Linked DNA regions of Homo sapiens: all the other regions are linked to region 4. The links are contacts of gene promoters, found by promoter capture Hi-C in blood cells and fetal thymus (Javierre and others, 2016). All regions are on one chromosome and are shown on one strand. The core of a region is centred on a gene start or on the middle of the fragment in contact, and the rest is flanking DNA. Distances in the headings are between cores, read along the strand shown.

Region 1 (2,700 bases), core at 85-2,584, 970 kb before region 4:
CCCGGGCTCAAGCAATCCTCCTACCTCAGCCTCCTGAGTAGCTGGGATTACAGTTGTCCATGCCCAGCTGATTTTTTTTTTTTGACCATTTAATATGAAAAGCATTTAGATTCTCTGTTTATAGAATATCCCAGTTAGCCACTATTCCACCTAACTATGGGAATCAGGACAAATCCTGAGAATAAATTTACAAACAAGAGAGTCTTCAGGCAGGGGGTGGTGTCTCACACCTGTAATCCCAGCACTTTGGGAGGCCGAGGTGGGTGGATCACCTGAGCTCGACCAGCCTGGGCAACATGGCAAAACCCTGTCTCTACAAAAAATACAGAAATTAGCCAGGTGTGGTGGCCTGTAGTCCCAGCTACTCAAGCAGCTGAGGTGGGAGGATCACTTGAGCCCCAGAGATGGAGGTGGAGGTTGCAGTGAGCAAGGTGACACTACTGTACTCCAGCCAGCTTGGGTACAGAGCAAGACCCTGTCTCAAAAAAAAAAAAAAAAAAAAAAAAAAAGAGGTTCTTCTTCAAGTGGTGGGTGCTGTGTGTGCAGGTCTAGGGTGGGATGGGGGCTGAGAGAAGCCAGTAGGAACAACACACACAGGCACCAGGGTGGTCCTATCACAAGGTGACATAAGCTGGTCCTGGGTGGAGGCCCGGGTTTGGTCACAGCTCAGTTTCCCGCAATGTGGACAACGACTTGGTTGTCCAAGCCTCGTTCCCAGGGCTGAGACAATCACGACAGCAGCCTCGAGGGTGTGAACCGGAAGAGGAGCCGAGGCCACATGGGAGGACCGGAGGGAGGGGTGGGATTTTGGAGCTGCTGGAAAGGTGAGCCCGGACCTGGTGCATGGACGTGCTCTGTTTACAGCATAGGGAGCTTGCTGGGGAGCCGGGGGAGAGGGCCGAGCCAATGCAAATGTCCAGTCCTACAGGGAAACAGAGACACATAGGGGAGCGGGGCCCCAGGAGAGCTTGCAGAGTGCCCACAAGGCCGAAGCACCATAAGCACCATGCAGATGGATAAATGGCCCGGAGCTGAAACCTGCCCCTTAACAGAGGCCCTGACCCAGAGGAGGCCCTGACAGCTGGCTAGGCTTCAGAGACGCAGTGACAGGGCCGGGGAGGTGTCCAGTGCCCAGAGACAGAGGAGAAGGGGTTTGAAGCACAGAGACAGAGGGCCGGCCATTCACTTGGGCCACCATGAGGGTGGGGGTCACGGGGGAAGTTGAGCCATGAGCCCCTGGAGAACCAGTCATGAAAGGCCAGTTTAACCATATTTGATGAGCAAGGGGGACCCCAGGATTATCCTGAATGGGGTTCCATTCTGTATTCTGAATCCAGGCCAGTGGAGTCGGGCATCCAGGGATCAGGCCTGAGGAGGGAGCCCTAGGAAGCAGCCCTGCCAGTCCTGTCTCTGGAAAATGGCCGAAGCATGCTGGATGCTGGGCCCTGTCTGACCCCTCTCACCGGGAACCTTGGGGGCCAGATCACACTCCCAGACGGTGGGAAAGCCAGGCGGAGGGACAGGCCTGCTGGGGTGGGCTGCGTGGCGGTGCAGATAACAGGCGCCAGCTGAAGCCACCAGGGACAGGGCCTCAGGCCTTGCTCTTGGGCAAGCTATAGCCAAATGATATGTTGGTGAATGCAACCGGATGATTCCCCGGGTATTGACAAGACTCCCAAGTGTGTGCCTGGCTCCGCAGAGCTAATGGAGAGCAGGCATTCAGCCGTCTGCGGAGCAGAGCTCTGCCTATGGGGCCATTTGTCATGCAGCTGCCAGAGAGGAAGCTGGGGCCAGGGCCTGGCTGTGGCCCCTGTGTCTCTCCCACACTCTCAGATCTTCCGTGCAAGGTTTTCACTGGAAAGAAGGGTTTTGCAGAGTCAAACAGGAGGAAGACGACCCAGTGCCCGCGGGGCTGGTCCCACAGCCTTGCACGGGGTTGGTGGCCCCTTCCTGCCACTCCACTCTCTGCTGGCCCAGAAGCTCAAGGCCATTCCCTGGCAGTCTTTGCTGGATGGGCCACGAGAGCTGCTAATAAGGTTGCTTGTTCAGGGCAGGGTGGGGAGGGCACTGGCACCAGTGGAGCCCCACAGGCCGACACCAATTTGATTCAGTTGTGTGTAATTCAAATGCTTAAAGAGGAGATTTGCTTTTTCCAGCATGGGAACTCCTGCCTTCATCCCAGGCTAGCCGGCACCCAGAACCCATCCCAGACCCTGTACGTAGCCCCCAGATCACTAGCTCTGTCTGCTGTCACCTGCCGGAGGGGTCTGTGGGTGGCAGAATGCCAGGAAGCACGTCCCCTACCAGGCCTCCACCCACCCTTACTTCCTGGCTGCAGGAGAAACCTGCAAGCAGCCTGGACCTCTGCGCCCTGCCACGGCCACCTCGACCCTCACCTGATGCTGTGGCTCCCTCTCCAGAGCCCCCCACCCCACCCCACACTCTTTCTGGCCACCTGACCCTACACAGTCAACAACCTCCTCGAGACACTAGTTTCCTAATGGGAGGGAAATTCACCAGTGCAGGAGGGACGGCGAGGAGCTAAAGAGAGGAAAGGAAAAGTGGAAAGAGAGAAAAAGGCGTGTGGAGAGGGTGCAACACGAGGTGGAAGGAGAGAGCCCAGCGCTGGGGGTGGGCGCTGGTGGGCAGCAGGGCAAAGTCCTGCCAGTCGAACTCAGCCCAAAGACCACAGATGGTCGG
Region 2 (2,700 bases), core at 61-2,560, 820 kb before region 4:
ACACAAGCTGTAAGCAAAAAAAAAAAGGAAGATGATTTTTAGTACATCAGAATGAAAAATTTCTGGTCAACTAGTGGCCCACTGACAAAGTTAATTCAGGCTTTTATTCAACATGCTTGGCTTTATGGCACTTCCCAGATGTTGCATTTCTTACAAATAGAAGGTTTGTGGCAGCCCTGCTTTGAGCAAGTCTGTTGGTGTCATTTTTCCAACAGCACATGCTCAGTTTATGTCTCTGTGTCATATTTTGGTAATTCTTGCAGTATCTAAAACTTTTTCATTATTATATCATTGTGATGATCTGTGATCAGTGGTCTTTGATGTTACTACTGTAGTTGTTTTGGGGGTCCCATATAAGACAGTGAACTTAATTGATAAATGTTGTATGTGTTCTAATTGGTCCACCAGCTGGCCATTCCTCTGTCTGTCTCCCTCATCTTGTGCATCCCTGTTCCCTGGGGATTGAAATTAGGACAATTAATAACCCTGCAATGGCCTCTAAGTGTTCAAGTGAAAAGGAGAGTCACAGGCCTCTGACTTTAAATCAAAAGGTAGAAGTAATTAAGCTAAGTGAGGAAGGCATGTCGAAAGCTGAGATAGGCCCCAAGCTAGGCATCTTGTGCCAAACAGTTAACCAAATTGTGAGTGCAAAGAAAATGTTCTTGGCCAGGCACGGTGGCTCACGCCTGTAATCCCAGCATTTTGGGAGGCTGAGGCGGGCGGCTTACTTGAGGTCAGGAGTTCAAGACCAGCCTGGCCAACATGATGAAACCCCATCTCTACTAAAAATACAAAAATTAGCCGGGCGTGGTGGTGTGCATGGTGTGCACCTGTAATCCCAGCTACTTGGGAGGCTGAGGCAGAAGAATCACTTGAACCTGGCAGGTGGAGGCCGCAGTGAACTAAGATCATGCCACTGCACTACAGCCTGGGTAACAGAGCAAGACTCCATCTCAAAAAAAAAGTACTTAAAGGAAATTAAAACTGCTACTCCAGGGAACACACAAATGATAAGAAAGTGAGACTGCCTTATTGCTGATACAGAGAAAGTTTGAGTGGTCTGGATAGAAGATCAAAGCAGCCACAGCATTCTCTTAGGCCAAAGCCGAATCCAGAGAAAGGTCCTAACTCTCTTCCACTCTGAAGGCTGAGAGAGGTGAGGAAGCTGCAGAAGGAAGTTTGAAGCTTTTGAACCTCATTGGTTCATGAGATTTAAAGAGCGAAGCCAGCTCCATAAAAAAGTGTAAGATGAAGCAACAAGTGTTGATGGAGAAGCTGCAACAAGTTTTCCAGAAGATCTAGTTAATTAAGATCATTGATGAAGACAGGAGCACTAAACAACAAATTTTCAATGTAGACTAAACAGTCTTCTATTGGAAGAAGATGCCATCTAAGACTTTTCATAGCTAGAGAGAAGACATCAATGTCTGGCTTCAAAGCTTCAAAGGATAGGCTGACTCTCTTGCTAGGGGCTGATGCAGCTGGTGTCTTTAAGCTGAAGCCAGTGCTCACTTGCCATTCTGAAAATCTTAGCGTCCTTAAGAATTATGCTGAATCTATTCTGCCTGTGCTCTAGAAATGGAACAACAAAGCCTGAATGACTACACAACTGCTTACAGCATGGTTTACTGAATATTTTAAGCCCGCCGTTGAGACCTACTGCTCAGAAGAAAAGATTCCTTTCAAAATATTACTGCTCATTGACAATGCACTTGGTCACCTATAAGCTCTGAGGGAGATGTGCTAGGAGATAAATGTCGTGTCCCTGCCTGCTAACACGATCACCATTCTCTGCCCATGGATCAAGGACTAATTTCTACTTTCAAGTCTTATTATTTAAGAAATAGATTTAATAAGGCTATAACTGCCATAGATAGTGATTCCTCTGATGGATCTGGGCAAGGAAAATTGAAAACGTCTGGAAAGGATTCACCATTCTAAATGCCATTAGAAACATTCGTGATTCATGGGAGGAGATCAAAATAATAACATTAAGAGGAGTTTGGAAGAAGTTGATTCCAGTCTTCATGGATGACCTTGAGGGGTTGAAGACTTTAGTGGAGGAAGTCACTGCAGATGTGGTGGAAATGCAAGAGAAATAGAAGATGGGACTGAACTGCAATTTCATGATCAAACTTGAAAGGATGAGGAGTTGCTTCTTTTGGATGAGCAAAGAACGTGGTTTCTTGACATGGAAACTACTCTTGATGAAGAAGCTATGAACACTGTTAAAACGACAACAAAGCATTTAGAATATTACATAAGCTTAGCTGACAAAGCAGTGGCAAGGTCTGAAAGGACTGACTCCAATTTTCAAAGAAGTTCTACTCTGGGTAAAATTCTATCAAACAGCATCACATGCTACAGAAAAATCTTTTTGTGAAAGGAAGAGTCAGGGGAAGGGCAGGGGTAGAAAAAAATTAAAAAAGAAGAGTCGATGGATACAGCAAACTTCATTACTGTCTTATTTTAAGAAATTCCACAGCCACCCCAACCTTCAGGAACCACCACCCTGATCAGTCAGCAGCCACCAACATCGAGGCAAAACCCTCCACCAAAGGAAGATTACAACTCCATGAAGGCTCAGATAATTGTTACCATTGTTTAGCAATAAAGTATTTTTAATTAATACAGTACATTTTATACATAATGCTATTGCACACTAAATGGACTACAGTATAGAAACATAACTTTTATATG
Region 3 (2,700 bases), core at 34-2,533, 990 kb before region 4:
TTGGGGGGTGAGGTTGGCCCTGATCTGGCAAGCAGTTTGAGTTTTCTGAAGTCTCTAGCAAGGGAATGACATAATAAAAGTGGTGATGGAAACATCTGTGCAGCAGCCGCTTTGACAGATCTGCAATCACAGCTCTAATGGCCACAGGGGACACTTCAGGCCACTGCCCTGGGCCAAAGCCAGAGCGCAGCCCAGCCCAGGAGAGTGATGGAGAGACCAGCGCTCCAGAAGGGAGAAAGGCTGTCCAGAGACCCAGAGGTTGGCGCCCTTCCTTGGATGCTTTTTCATTTTGCTATTTGTCCTTTAAGCTAACAAACACTCAACTCCAGCTCTGATTTGCTGACACCTGAGCTGAGGGCCTAGGGACCTGCTACCCCCGCCCAGTACTTTCTGACTGTCCACCCCCAGTGCCAAGAGCTCTCCACCTGTCAGACGACCCAGGGAGAGCGGGGAAGTGCCTAGAGGCATCCCAGGACTGCGATGGCTACACCACGAGTGCTGTCAACTCCTTAGTTCATGAGTCCTACCAGAAGCCCGGAGACCTCATGACCTATTCACACTGTCCTGCCTCCCACCCAACCATGCTCCCAGGAGCAAGTGGGTCAGGGGCAGAGCCAGGAGGTGGGGGCAGTGTCAGGATGGTCAGGGTTTGGTCCCAGGACGTGGGGGCAGGGCCAGCAGGTGGGGGTAAGGCCTCAAGGTTGTAGAGAGACAGGGACTCCTTCCCCATCTGTGAAGCATGGGGAGGCTGCAGTGGGGACTCCAAGGTAACACACCTGCCCTCTGCCTCACTGAAAACAACAGAAGATCATGGCTGAGAGGCCGAGCATCCTGTCTGCTGTGTGGCCATAGCTTTCCTGGACATTTGCTGTGTCTGTTCTCTGGCTGCTGTCTATGGCCAGGGGGGCTTAAGCAATGGGATTTATCCCTTCACAGTTCTGGAGGCTGGGAGCCTAAGTCAAGGTGTGTGTGAGCCCGCAGTCCATCTGTATTAGTCCGTTCTCACACTGCTAGAAGGAACTACCTGAAACTGGGTAACTTATGCAGAAAAAAAGTTTAATTGACTCACAGTTCTGTAGGCTCTACAGGAAGCATGGCTGGGGAGGCCTCAGGAAACTTACAATCATGGCAGAAGGTGAAGAGGAAGCAGGCACGTCTTACATGGCATCAGGAAGGAAAGAGTGAAGGGGAAGTGCTACACACTTTTCAACAACCAGATCTCGTGAGAACTCATTCACTATCGCCAGAATAGCAATGGGAAGTCTGCCCCTACGATTCAATCACCTCCCACCAGGCCCCTCCTCCAACATGTGGGGATTACAATTCAACAGGAGATTCGGGTGGTAACAAGAAGCCAAACCATATCACCATCTGAAACCTGGGGGAGCCCTTTCTGCCCTGCAGCTTCAGGGATCACAGGCACCAGGGCATCCCCGTCTCAGCTCCACCAGCTCCCTGGGTCTCCGTCATCACTGGGCCTTCTTTTAAGGACACCAGTCATTCTGGACTGAGGGCCCACATGAATGACCTCATCTTAAATAATTACACCTGCCATGACCCTATTTCCAAGTCAGGTCACATTCTGAGGTCCTGGGGGTCAGGACTTCCACAAACCATTTTTGCCGGGAACATCATACAACCCTTAACAGTTACTATAGGATTAAATGAAATCCTACAGTGTATTTTAAAACTCTATCTAATTGCACCTGAAATAAATTCTTCATCTTGTCTAATTCCCCAATTAGCCCTGGCCTGATAACTTGATTTTCATTCCTGTGTGACCCCTGGCACTCCTGACCCACTAACCTGATGCTGATGATGGCATCATGTGTCTGGATTGGGGACCTTCCTAACGTTGACAGGTGATTCATCTGATAATGGTTTTGAGTGGCTATTGTGTGCAGATCCTACTCAGGTATTATAGTATCTCCAGGAACTGTAATAAACAGCAATTTCAGACTCAATTCATCTCCTTTATCTGTGACACTGTGTGAATGGGAACACAATGGACCAAAAGAACACTCAGCCCATGCCAAAATCTCCCAAAGGACACAGAGGTGTCACTGTAACTTCTCACATATGCGCTGCACGAGGACTCGGCTGGGCTGCAGATCTGAAACCTTTGTTCTTCCAACTTCACTTACAGCAGTAAAGCCCATTTATCAAAATCTATTTCCTTTAAATGATGGTAGGAACGGGGAAGAAGTGAGGTGGGGGAGAAACTTACAGGAAGAGTCTTGTCAAAAGGAGACATTTTGGAGTCAACAATGGTAGGTGGGAGGTTGGTGGGAAGTGAAGCTCAAACACAGTTCACTCAACAACCTGTACTCAGTAACAACAGACATGTTCATCTCACTAAAAAGGAGAAAACCAAAGGCGAGGCGCCCAGATCGTGGATAAGTCCCAGGAGAGAGTAAAAGCAGAGTGCTGAGACCAGCTATCACCCTGATTTGGAACACTGGCTCAGGCCACTTTAGAAAGGGGGACTGGGGATGACCTATGCCCAGGCACTAGTGTGTTTCAAGAAAAAGGTGTCAGAGGACTGCAAGTTCACAGACACCTGAAGACAGTGGGGTCTGCTACTGTGTGGGAGGCTCCCTCTCATTTATCCGTCAAGGCCCGCTAAAGTGTCTCCATTTATCACAACACCTCTCCGAGCCAGTCCGGCCTACCACTAACTCATCTTTCTCCAACTCTGTC
Region 4 (2,700 bases), core at 6-2,505:
AGATTGCGCCACTGCACTCCAGCCTGGGCGACAGAGTGAGACTCATCTCAAAAAACAAAACAAAACAAAAAAATACATGTTTCCAGAAAGCTCCTAAAAAATTAGTATCAAGAATTTACGATCGGGCAAGAAGCAGGAAGCAAGTGGCAAGTGGGACTCTCAGTACCTTTATAATATAGTAGGTGGTGTTTGCCTTCTTTGGTTTCAGTAAGAACTTTTGGGCGATCATCCCATCTTCGACACTTGAAAACATTTTCCAGGAGTGATCTTGGTGTGGTTTACTCAGTCTAAGGCCATTCATTCCTTAAGGCTGGCCAAGCATTTGTTTTGCAGATTTTTCTTCTTAGAAAAATTTAGGCCGTGTTAGGTATAATAATTCCAACTAATTTTTTTTGTTGTTTTTTTGAGACAGACTCTCGCCCTGTTGTCCAGGCTGGAGTGCAATGGCGCGATCTTGGCTCACTGCAACCTCCGCCTCCCAGGTTCAAGCGATTCTCCTGCCTCAGCCTCCGGAGCAGCTGGGATTACAGGCACCCGCCACCACGCCCGGCTAATTTTTGTATTTTCAGTAGAGAAGGGGTTTCACCATGTTGGCCAGGCTGGTCTGGAACTCCTGACCTTGTGATCCACCCTCAGCCTCCCAAAGTGCTGGGATTACAGGCGTGAGCCACCGCGCCCGGCCAATTCCAACTAATTTTTTTTTTTTTTTTTATTATATGGGGAAGGTTACTCAGTCATTCAACAAACATTTGGGCACTTCCACAGGTACACCAAATACTGTGCTAAGCACCTGCTGCTCATCAATAGTGATTAAGACAGACTCAAGCCCTATCCTAGAAGATTTGATAGTCCAGTAGGGGAGGCAGACAACAAATACATAAATATAAAAATATAAACACTTTGCTTTAAGGGTTAGGAATGAAACCAACAGATTGTTGAGACAGAGGATACAGTACCGGTAGGGGACATAGTCAGGGTGATCAGGAACAACTTCCCTCGCAAGGTGACATTCGAGCGAAGACTTACAGGAGGAGAAAGGCGCCAGGCCTCGGAAATGGGGTCACGTTCATGTAAGTCAGTTAAAAATAAACCCCAATCTCTCCAGCAGCAAGGTTGGACGTATGGGGCCAAGAAGCCTCGCTGCCAGCACTAAAGATGGCGCGCCGGAGTGGGGGTGGGGGTGTTGGGGGAGGCGGGGCGTGCGCGCGTTCTGATTGGCCGACCGGGGAGTGACGTCACGTGTCGGCCGCCGAGCATCCGGGCTCCCGGCAGCGGCGCTGCGGCGGCTCGCGGGAGACGCTGCGCGCGGGGCTAGCGGGCGGCGGAGCGGACGGCGACGGGGCGCTCTCGGGCTGCCGGCGGGGCCGAGCGCCGCGCGTCCCGAGCATGGCAGGCTCCCTGCCTCCCTGCGTGGTGGACTGTGGCACCGGGTAAGAGCAGCTCGGCGCCCACCCCCGCTCCTCCGCGGCCCCGCTCCCGGCCCCTGGCGTCCACCTCGCCTGGAGGTCGAGCTGCGTCCGTCGCCCCGGGCTTGAGCCCCGCGATCACCTGGGCAGGTGGGGCGCCGGCCGCCGCTTCCCTCCAAGCCTTGCCTTGACGTCGTAAAACCCCCTCTTCCCTGCCGGGAAGGGCCACAAGAGGAAAAGCACGGAGGGTAGGGACGCGGTGCCCACTCTGAGCGAGCCCGGCGCTCCTCGCCTCCCCCGCCCACGTGGCCGGGCCCCTGGACCCGCAGCCCGGCTCCGGCCGTCGCCGGGGTGGACACCCTGAGGGACACCGGGAGCGCGGGATCTCCCCTCCTAGGAATATTCGCCAGCGTGAGGCACAGATCATCACTGCAGATCCTTTAACGTCACTCATCTCCTAGTGAACGGTGTCCCTGCCTTCCAGCGTTCTCAGCACTGGCCCTCGTTCTGTCCCCGCGTGTGCGTGTCATTCCTCCTGGCTGAGGATTCTTTACCACCTACTTGTGGAGAGAATAGCATCGATCTCCCAACTTGATACCATTTTTACTGCCCTCCCTGCGCTTTTCCAGTATGAAATGGCACACTCAGGCCAAGCTGTCCCTTTGGTTTGCATAGATTTGCCTTTTCGCTGAAAAATGATGTGTTTAAAAAGACTCCATTTTGAAAAATACCCTAAATTTGGGAGAGCATGTTTGTGGAATTGTGGTAGAGGTTTTTGTTTTTAACTTTTTGAGTGTGACCACTTCTTTCGTTGCCGTTAAGCTATTAAAAAGAGATCTTAGGAAATGCCCTGAAGTATCGGTGACCCAAGTTAGCTGGTTGTAGTAAGGTGATTGCTGAATCCATGTAGCTGGTAGTTTGGGAATACAAGCTTGCCTGCCTGCGTTATGGGTGTAGTGCTTAGTAAAATAGCCTGGAAGTAAATTTGGTCTCTTAGCGATTTTTTTCAAGAAGGGATTTTAATCATTTTTGCCACAAAATGTAACATGGCATGTTCACCTTACCCTTGATTCTTTTCTATAGAAAAATGCACTTGGTTTGGTTTCCTTGACAACCTTGTGGGGGTGCCTTCTTTAGTTTGCTACAGTCCATCTCCTACTGTTAGTTCCTTCCTTTTGCTGCTGAAGCGACCAGAAGTGGTTGTGGACTGGAAAAATCCTCTTTGCTTGTGTGAATTCTTTTTGAAATACACGTCATATCAAGCTTTGTAGCTCTTTATTTTAGAACTTGCTTT
Region 5 (2,700 bases), core at 111-2,610, 880 kb before region 4:
GGATAGCTTGTTGGAGAAAGGGGCATATTGAGTGTATCAGTCTGTTCCCATGCTGCTAGTAAAGACATACCTTAGACTGGGTAATTTATAAAGGAAAGAGGTTTAATTGACTCACAGTTCCACATGGCTGGGGAGGCCTCACAATCATGGTGAAAAGCAAGGAGAAGGAAAGACACGTCTTACATGACAGCAGGAAAGAGAGAGTGTGCAGGGGAACTCCCATTTATAAAACCATCAGATCTCGTGAGACTTATTCACTATCACGAGAACAGCATGGGAAAGACCCACCCCCATGATTCCTCCCACAACACATGGGAATTATGGGAGCTACAATTCAAGATGAGATTTGGGTGGGGACACAGCCAAACCCTATCACTGAGGCTGCTTCCCGTTGGGGGCATCATTGGCCCAGGCTGGTGAGCATGAGGGTTAAAAACATGCAGCTTCTATTATGTGACAGTGCCAAGGGCTCATACACATGTTAGCACATTGAATGGGGGAGCAGATATGATTGGCACATTTTATACCACACATGTGTTTGTGTCGTTGCTGTCCCACTATATTAGTATCCTAGACCAACATCACCTGCAAATACTTGGGGTACCCATTTCTGAATGCTGTCAGCTCTCAGGGATCCTGGTCAACACACTGGCCTGCCAGGGTGAGCCACCTCTTCCCCAGCCAGGCAACATTTCATTCAGAGGTGATAATTTAAAATGCTGCACCCAGGTCCAGGGCCTACAACCCGCTGAGAAGTGAAATACCCACAGTAGGAGAGTTAACGTAAAGGAAATCCTTGATCAGAGCTTATGAAGGGGACACTGGCTATTTAATTTCACTTAATCTGGTTTTCCAAACTTACGTGTTCCCTTACGCCCACCCATGCTTTTTTTTTTTTTTAATTTGGCCTGTTATTCCATATAAATAAAAATGACTTTGAAAACCATGAGTCATCTTTATATAGTATAGACAGTCTTAGAATTGGGGGTGTCCTCATGGGTTTGAAGTCCAAGCTTACTCTGGGTGCTTAGAATGTAGCAGTTAGAAGCTTCCTCTGTAATCAGGAGATGGATGTCTGTGTCTGATGAGTTCCCAACCTCAGTGACAGTGGATTCCACATTGCAAAGAAGAAAGGAACTTTTTGATCACTAATAACATGCCAGGCACCATGTTAGGTACTTCATATTAACTATCTCACCCTAATTTCCACTAAAATCCCTGAAGAGAACGATCACATCCACTTTACAGATGAAGGGAACAGAAACCTAGTTGCTGGAATCCGCTGGCATTCATTTCACTTCTGCCCGTGAGTATTAATTGGCTGTGCCCTCTAGGAAAACATAAAATATGTGGCCCCTCTGCTTTTAAGAACTTTGCTGAAGACTCTTTAGGAAATGCCTTTGGGATAACCTTGGACCGTCTAAGAGAGACCAACTAAGAACATCTTAGCTGCCTTGGTCTATTTGCCTGTGACACAAATGGAGAGAGCAATGGTCTGTATATGCAGGAAGACAACAACAGCTCAATTTTACAACTCTTAGAAAAACTAAACAGCAAGTTCTGGGCTCAGGACTCTGTAAATGCTTTGATAACTTATTGAATACCAAGCTAAGGGGGTGTTATCTAATTGTGAAAAACAGGGCAAATAGTCACATTCCAGTTTTTATTTCCTTTAAGCTTGGGCAATGGTTGTGTAACCTTGTGATGGCTTTTGCTCCCTGGTACAAATGGAGTCATTAGTATCAATCCACGCAGAGAAGTGGAGGCAGGGGCCCAGGACCAGCAGGAACACTGCTTTGGGACAACACATCTCCTGACTGCCTGACTGCCCCTTTCTGGGTCCATTTTATTTTCCCGGGCACCTGTGCCAGCCACCTCCTTGGTCAGTGCTCCAGGTAGCTCTTCATCCATGATGCCAGTCAACCATAAGGAAGTCCTCATCGTGAAATCCAAGAAGTACTTTGGATTAAGGTAAAGGTGAACCCTGTAGCAATGTTCTCCCAAACGACAGATTTGCTGTGCATATCTTCTCTCTAGAGAATAGCTTCGTGTCTTGGCCAGCTCTGTACCTAAGCACACACTCAGCAGTTCTACAGAATGACAGATTCACCAAACAGGGCATGTGTATCCACAAGCGCTGTGCAGTGAGGAGGTGTCTGTTTGCTAAATAATAGAATAGGGAATCCCCAGCAATGATGCCCCCTTCCTGACTAAGGGTAGCCGTCATGTAAACAGCATTAGTTGGGAATAAAGTCTTTGGTTCTGCTAACAGCTGCCTTTATAATTGTTTTGCAGAGTGTCCCATGTGACTTTTATCCTAGTGATCCGGCATTACCTCCCACTGGGGTGGAAGATTTGGTCTCCCTGGGCTGCAGAATTTGACTAAAGGTCTGTGTGTGTTGGTTCTTGACTTAGTTATGAGCTCTCAACATGCAATAAACATCCTGATTAACCTTGGGAAATCTGAATACTACTATTACCTGAATATGGCTCTTGACTGGTTTCTGACCTCTCACCCATCTATGGGCACATGATTAAGTAATGCAAATTAATTGTAATAATTTCCCAAGCAAATAAAATTATTTTGGTAATGATATTGGCCTCAAAGTTCGTACATTGCAATGCAAATCTGACTGTTCACTTACATGAGAGGGTCTGTCTGAAGCTCTGGTTTGCCTGCACCACTGATACCATCCATTC
Region 6 (2,700 bases), core at 7-2,506, 680 kb before region 4:
CCGTCTAGGAAAGACAGCCAATAAAGGGCATGTTTTCAAGCCAGGTCCCGCTGTGGACAAATGAAGCTTGATTGTGCTGAGGAATTCTAGAGCCAGTGTAGCATACGTATGTCAGAGTTGTGATTTTTCCACTGGGGGTTTGGAGGGAGGCTGGATTTAAGGAAGCTGGAGTCTTCTTATCAGTATATTGTGAGGACTGCCCTCAGGTAGGTACACATTCCCCTGTAGTTTGGGCCTGCCCTGCACGTGGGCAGATGGGCTTCAGAAGCCAGAGATACAGGTACTGGCAGTTGGAATTCAGAACACTGTGCGGGATAGTAATGCTCAAGGGGACCTGCAAACAACAGTAACTGCGATGTTTATTTACTGGGCTTGGTTAACAGCATGAGCTAGGATCTGGTGATTTGCCAGATTGATTAAGTCTGTCAGCTTTCTAAACCTGTTGAGGTGGTAGATTCTCAGAAATTAATTTTCTATACAGTTCACGATGTATGGAGGAAAAAAGTTTTCTGAAAAAGGCCCATAGCTGGGCATGGTGGCTCATGCCTATAATCCCAATACTTTGGGTGGATGAGGTGAGGATCGCTTGAGCCCAGGAGTTGGAGGCTACAGTAATCTATGATCATAACCACCACACCCCAGCCTGGGTGACAGTGAGACCTTGTCTCAAAAAAAAGGCCCAAGATTCTGTCACAGTTTGATTTGCTGATGTTCTTTTTGGCAGTACCTAGCCTGCACTCTTTGAAATGCCAAAACAACTGTTTAGAAAATAGCCCTGGCCTTGTGCTTCCGATAATGGCCTGAGTAACCTAGTTAAAGCCAGCTGATACTTTTCTGAAAAGCATCAAGGAATTTACAACATAGTAAAGAATTACTGGGTTAAGATTTGGGAGATGATAGAAAACCAGAGACGTGAGCCTCTGACCCAGGGCCGCTTTTGCCCGGCTATTTGCTGTTCTGGAAGAGCAGGTGAGAGGCTGAGCAGTGTAGTTAACTGACTCACAGGAGGACAGAAACAAAAACTGGAGTCTAGAACTTGCTGTGGGTAAGAATCCTGGTGAGCCACCTGGGGTTAATGTTGAAACCTTGAGAGGCTGCCATCCAGAACACTCATGGGCTGGGAGTGTGCCAGCCTTTGCCTGGACTGAAGCTCCATGGGGTCACCTGGGGGTTTAGTAAATCTCAAATGGTGAAATGGATTAGGGTGATCTCAAATTGCTGGTGACCCCAGTCACCTAACAGAGACAGATGAAAATCCTCTCCAGAGGAAGATAACATCTCACGCCTCAAATTATTTCTGAAATGATTTTTCAAATAGTGTCCACCATACCACCAAGTCAGTGTAACCAGGCCCACTGGGAGACTACCTTAACAAGAACCCGCACAGATAACAGAGGATAGAAACAGGCTTTGCAGACAGTGGAATTACCAGACAGACGCTAAAGCATATGTTTATTATGTTCATGGAGATAAAAGTTGAATAAAAACATTTCAACAAGGAACTGGAAACTTAATATAAGGGGGCAAAGCAGACCTGAAAAACAACTAAATACTAGATCTAAAAAATACAGTAGCCAAAATGGAGGATTCAGTGGATTCAGCAGATTAGATACTGCTGAAGAGAAAAGTGAGCCCCCGAGAGATCAGAAGAAACCTCTCTGAATGAAGCGTGAGGGGGGAAGGCTGGACAACACTGAAGAAGCTGTAAGAAATATACTCCATCCTGAGAAAGTCTGACATACGTGATTTGAATCCTAGAAGGAGAAGAGGGAGGGGGGTAGAAGGAATATTTGTTTTTGTGTTTGTTTTTTTTAGACAGAGTTTCACTCTTGTTGCGCAGGCTGGAGTGCAATGGTACAGTATCGGCTTACCCCAAATCCAAGTGATTCTTCTGCCTCAGCCTCCTGAGTATCTGGGATTACAGGCGTATGCCACCATGCCCAGCAAATTTTGTATTTTTAATAGAGACAGGGTTTCTCCATGTTGGTCAGGCTGGTCTTGAACCCCCGACCTCAGATGATCCACCCGCCTCGGCCTCCCAAAGTGCTGGGATGATAGGCATGAGCCACTGCGCCCGGCCGGAAGGAATATTTGAATAAATAATGGCAAAGATTTTTGAAACCCCATGAAAGATGACAATCCACAGAATTAAGAGATTCTTAATATAGCATAAGGTGATTCTTAAAGTTTTCCACTTCTAAGTAATATGCAAATTCATTTTCCTTAGATTGAGCTTCCTTCCCCTCCTCCTTTCTAATTTTAGCAGTGGTTTTCAGAATTCTGCTGAGAGTAAGTGTTTTTCTAACAAGTGATGAATTACATGTTTTTTTTAATCACATTTACAAAATAATTTATGTGCTAGAGTTCCAAAAATTTTGATTGGACAAAAAGGATGCAACTTCTGTTTTGATTGAAGACTGAGAGATAAGAACATCTTAAATAAAAGGCAAGCTTTCCAGACCCAAAGGATTAGTTTATAATGCAGGAATTTCAGCATAATGGGCAGTCAGGGGGCAGAGCCCCTCACTGGCACCACTCAGCCATGGTTTATAGGTAGCTCCTACTCTGTCTCCCTTGCCGACTGGGAAGAATGACTCTCACGGATGAATGGCATAGCTGACACAGGAAAGAGTATGTGTAGGATGCAAGCGAAAACCCTTTAACTAATACTACTATTAATAATTATGTATAACAGCTGGA
Region 7 (2,700 bases), core at 176-2,675, 670 kb before region 4:
TAAAAATACAAAAACTAGCCAGGTATGGTGGCACGCACCTGTAATCCCAGCTACTTGGGAGGCTGAGGCAGGAGAATCACTTGAACTCGGGAGGCAGAGGTTGCAGTGAGCCAAGATCCCACCACTTTACTCCAGCCTGGGTGACAGAGTGAGACTCTGTCTTAAAAAGGAAAAAAAAAAAAAAAGCTTAGGAAAAATTGCTGTTCAGTGCTACATTTAGTTCTTCTTGCCTTGTTTTATAGGTGAGGGAATATAATTACTTGAACTCTTTATTTGAAAATAACTTAGATTTAGAGTGCACACTAGGGCAGGCATAACCTTTGATTGGAAAGTAGAATTTTTTTTAAGTTGTTTATATTTATTTATTTTTATTGTTTTGAGACAGAGTCTTGCTCGGTTGCCCAGGCCAGAGTACAGTGGTGCAATCTTGGCTCACCACAACCTCCGCCTCCCGGGTTCAAGAGGTTCTGCAGCCTCAGCCTCCCAAGTAGCTGGGATTATTATAGGCGCCCACCACAACCCTCAGCTAATTTTTGTATTTTTGATAGACACAAGGTTTCACCAGGTTGGCCAGGCTGGTCTCGAACTTCTGACCTCAAATGATCCGCCCACCTCAGCCTCCCAAAGTGCTGGGATTACAATCATGAGCCACCACACCTGGCCAGAGTTGCTTAGAGTTGCTTATTTTTAATAATAGATTTTTAAGATCCTTGGATTAAAAAAAGAATCTTGCAGTTCTTTGGTTGGAAGAGACTTTAGTTGTCCTGTTATGATACATGTGGTACTTGTTATTTTCCTTGTGAAAATTATAACCTGATGAGAAAAATTACGCAACTGAAAGCAGTCCAGAACAAAGGTGAAGAAGTATCCATTAACATGGGCAAATGAATCAGTCAGCTATTTCACTGCCGTTGGTTCTCTGAGCATTAACCCACAGGCCTGAGGTTTTCATTGTTGAACCCTTTTTAAAAACTCAGTACTATCCATACATCTTCTTGTATTTGAATATCCGTTAACTGTACGCATAGTGGTCCTACTTGGTGGTTTGGAAAACAGTGATTCTGTATTTGGTGGATGGTTTAAAGTATACTGAAGTGTCTAACATATTTATTCTTCTTTTTTAGGAAATTGACAATGGCCCTTCAGCTATGCTAGGTCTATAATGGGAAGTGTCACAGTTCGGTATTTCTGTTATGGGTGCCTTTTTACATCTGCGACCTGGACAGTTTTGCTTTTTGTTTATTTCAACTTCAGTGAAGTGACTCAGCCACTTAAGAATGTGCCCGTCAAGGGGTCTGGGCCCCACGGACCATCTCCAAAAAAATTCTATCCCCGTTTCACTCGAGGCCCAAGTCGAGTGCTCGAGCCACAGTTCAAAGCAAACAAAATTGACGATGTGATAGACAGTCGTGTTGAAGATCCAGAAGAAGGCCACTTGAAATTCTCTTCTGAATTAGGTAAGTATATGATGTTTACCAGCATCCATATCAATGTATTTAATCACTGGAAGTTTGATTAATTAGTTAATTAGGAGATCAGAAATGCTGCATCATTTTTTCCCCACTGATTTATTTTGTTTGTGAACTACCTGAAGTTCTGTGGTTTCTGCAGACTCAGTGGGGAGTTATATTCTAATTTATCCAGTTCTGACTTCAGTATCTTATGAGAAAACAAACAAGGTCCAGGGAAGAAAAATTAAAAGGCTAGAAAGAAAATGGAACCTATGGGAGAAGGGGTTTGTTTTTTGTTTGTTTTTTTAAGAGATGGGGTCTCACCATATTGCCCAGGCTGTCCCCGAATTCTTGGGCTCAAGCTGCCCTCCCACCTCAACCTTGAGAGTAGCTGGGACTATAGGCATGCACCACTGTGCCCAGCCCTGGAAGAAGGTTTTAATTGCTAGAATTGTTAATAAGGGAAAGAAATGGTTGAAAGTTTCCTTGACTGTATTTAACTTATTTTTAAGGGTACATTTAATTAATACAGAACATAAAGTACTGAGTTTAAAAATAAGCTGGGGTTATTTATATCTAATATGATTTTCACTTAACAAGAATTACTAAGGTGCTAGAAAAAATATATGTATATATAATATAGTTTATGAAATCTTAGTTATAAAATAGCCCTTTTTTCCTCCTAAAAAATTATATTCTCTTCAACTTGGATGCAAGACTCTATTGTCTATGCCTTTGAATACTGCAATTTTAGAGTGTTGATTTTGACATTTTATTTTAAGGGATAAGTGAGCAATTTTTGTTATCATTAAAACTTAAAGAACTTGGATCTTGTCACAAAAACATCAAATAATAGGTAATTTAAGAGTAAAATACAAGAGATTTTTGAGAGATTGAGAGAGCCTTAGAATGTGAAAGAAATGTTAAAATAGAGTTTTCACTTGGTCATAGTTTCAAAGAAATAAAATCAGTTCTTAGGACTTAATGATTTTCTAATATAGGAAGTCAAAAGTATGTAAAATTTTATGAGGAAACAAGCTAATATCTACTTCAGTTTTCATTTAAAAATATTTTTAAATAGAGACGTGATCTCACCAACTTCAATTTTCATAAAGTACAATTTTCATAAATCTTTTTCAAATAGCCAGTGGACATTTTTAAAGCATTAATGGGAAAATGTCTAGCTCTTTTATTTATTTATAGTTACATTGGTAAAGCTTTTATCAAGAAGTAATACTGAGTTTACCAT

The links. Contacts are between HindIII fragments. The CHiCAGO score rates a contact against its expected background, and 5 or more counts as called.
Region 1: a fragment that was not itself captured here is called in contact with the fragment with the promoter of ACTR3B in region 4 in 1 of 17 cell types (naive CD8 T cells); the score reaches 5.2 in naive CD8 T cells.
Region 2: a contact is called between a fragment that was not itself captured here and the fragment with the promoter of ACTR3B in region 4, in 1 of 17 cell types (total B cells). The highest score is 6.6, in total B cells.
Region 3: a fragment that was not itself captured here is called in contact with the fragment with the promoter of ACTR3B in region 4 in 1 of 17 cell types (non-activated CD4 T cells); the score reaches 5.3 in non-activated CD4 T cells.
Region 5: a fragment that was not itself captured here is called in contact with the fragment with the promoter of ACTR3B in region 4 in 5 of 17 cell types (total CD8 T cells, total CD4 T cells, activated CD4 T cells and 2 more); the score reaches 7.1 in total CD8 T cells.
Region 6: a contact is called between a fragment that was not itself captured here and the fragment with the promoter of ACTR3B in region 4, in 2 of 17 cell types (erythroblasts and megakaryocytes). The highest score is 7.1, in erythroblasts.
Region 7: a contact is called between a fragment that was not itself captured here and the fragment with the promoter of ACTR3B in region 4, in 4 of 17 cell types (M2 macrophages, erythroblasts, monocytes and 1 more). The highest score is 6.4, in M2 macrophages.

Annotation. Positions count from the first base shown.
Region 1 is chr7:151,783,431-151,786,130 of GRCh38, forward strand. The region is part of intron 2 of PRKAG2 (protein kinase AMP-activated non-catalytic subunit gamma 2); the gene reads right to left. Among named protein-coding and RNA genes, the nearest start is that of PRKAG2-AS2, 22 kb to the right of the region's middle. RefSeq lists enhancers at 487-1,376, 1,377-2,266. The HindIII fragment of the contact is 7,939 bases long and covers 1-2,700 here.
Region 2 is chr7:151,937,480-151,940,179 of GRCh38, forward strand. No RefSeq gene overlaps it. Among named protein-coding and RNA genes, the nearest start is that of GALNTL5, 18 kb to the right of the region's middle. The HindIII fragment of the contact is 254 bases long and covers 1,184-1,437 here.
Region 3 is chr7:151,764,114-151,766,813 of GRCh38, forward strand. The region is part of intron 3 of PRKAG2 (protein kinase AMP-activated non-catalytic subunit gamma 2); the gene reads right to left. Among named protein-coding and RNA genes, the nearest start is that of PRKAG2-AS2, 41 kb to the right of the region's middle. The HindIII fragment of the contact is 5,984 bases long and covers 1-2,700 here.
Region 4 is chr7:152,758,497-152,761,196 of GRCh38, forward strand. It overlaps ACTR3B (actin related protein 3B), which reads left to right and starts at 1,256. Exons shown (of 12, transcript NM_020445.6): 1 at 1,256-1,430. The coding sequence starts at 1,387. RefSeq lists enhancers at 898-1,057, 2,058-2,107 and silencers at 1,308-1,827, 1,588-1,882. The HindIII fragment of the contact is 7,028 bases long and covers 1-2,335 here.
Region 5 is chr7:151,881,218-151,883,917 of GRCh38, forward strand. No RefSeq gene overlaps it. Among named protein-coding and RNA genes, the nearest start is that of PRKAG2, 5.5 kb to the left of the region's middle. The HindIII fragment of the contact is 629 bases long and covers 1,047-1,675 here.
Region 6 is chr7:152,076,421-152,079,120 of GRCh38, forward strand. The region is part of intron 1 of GALNT11 (polypeptide N-acetylgalactosaminyltransferase 11); the gene reads left to right. Among named protein-coding and RNA genes, the nearest start is that of GALNT11, 52 kb to the left of the region's middle. The HindIII fragment of the contact is 2,385 bases long and covers 65-2,449 here.
Region 7 is chr7:152,093,066-152,095,765 of GRCh38, forward strand. GALNT11 (polypeptide N-acetylgalactosaminyltransferase 11) reads left to right here. Exons shown (of 12, transcript NM_022087.4): 2 at 1,125-1,457. The coding sequence starts at 1,163. Among named protein-coding and RNA genes, the nearest start is that of GALNT11, 69 kb to the left of the region's middle. The HindIII fragment of the contact is 2,482 bases long and covers 185-2,666 here.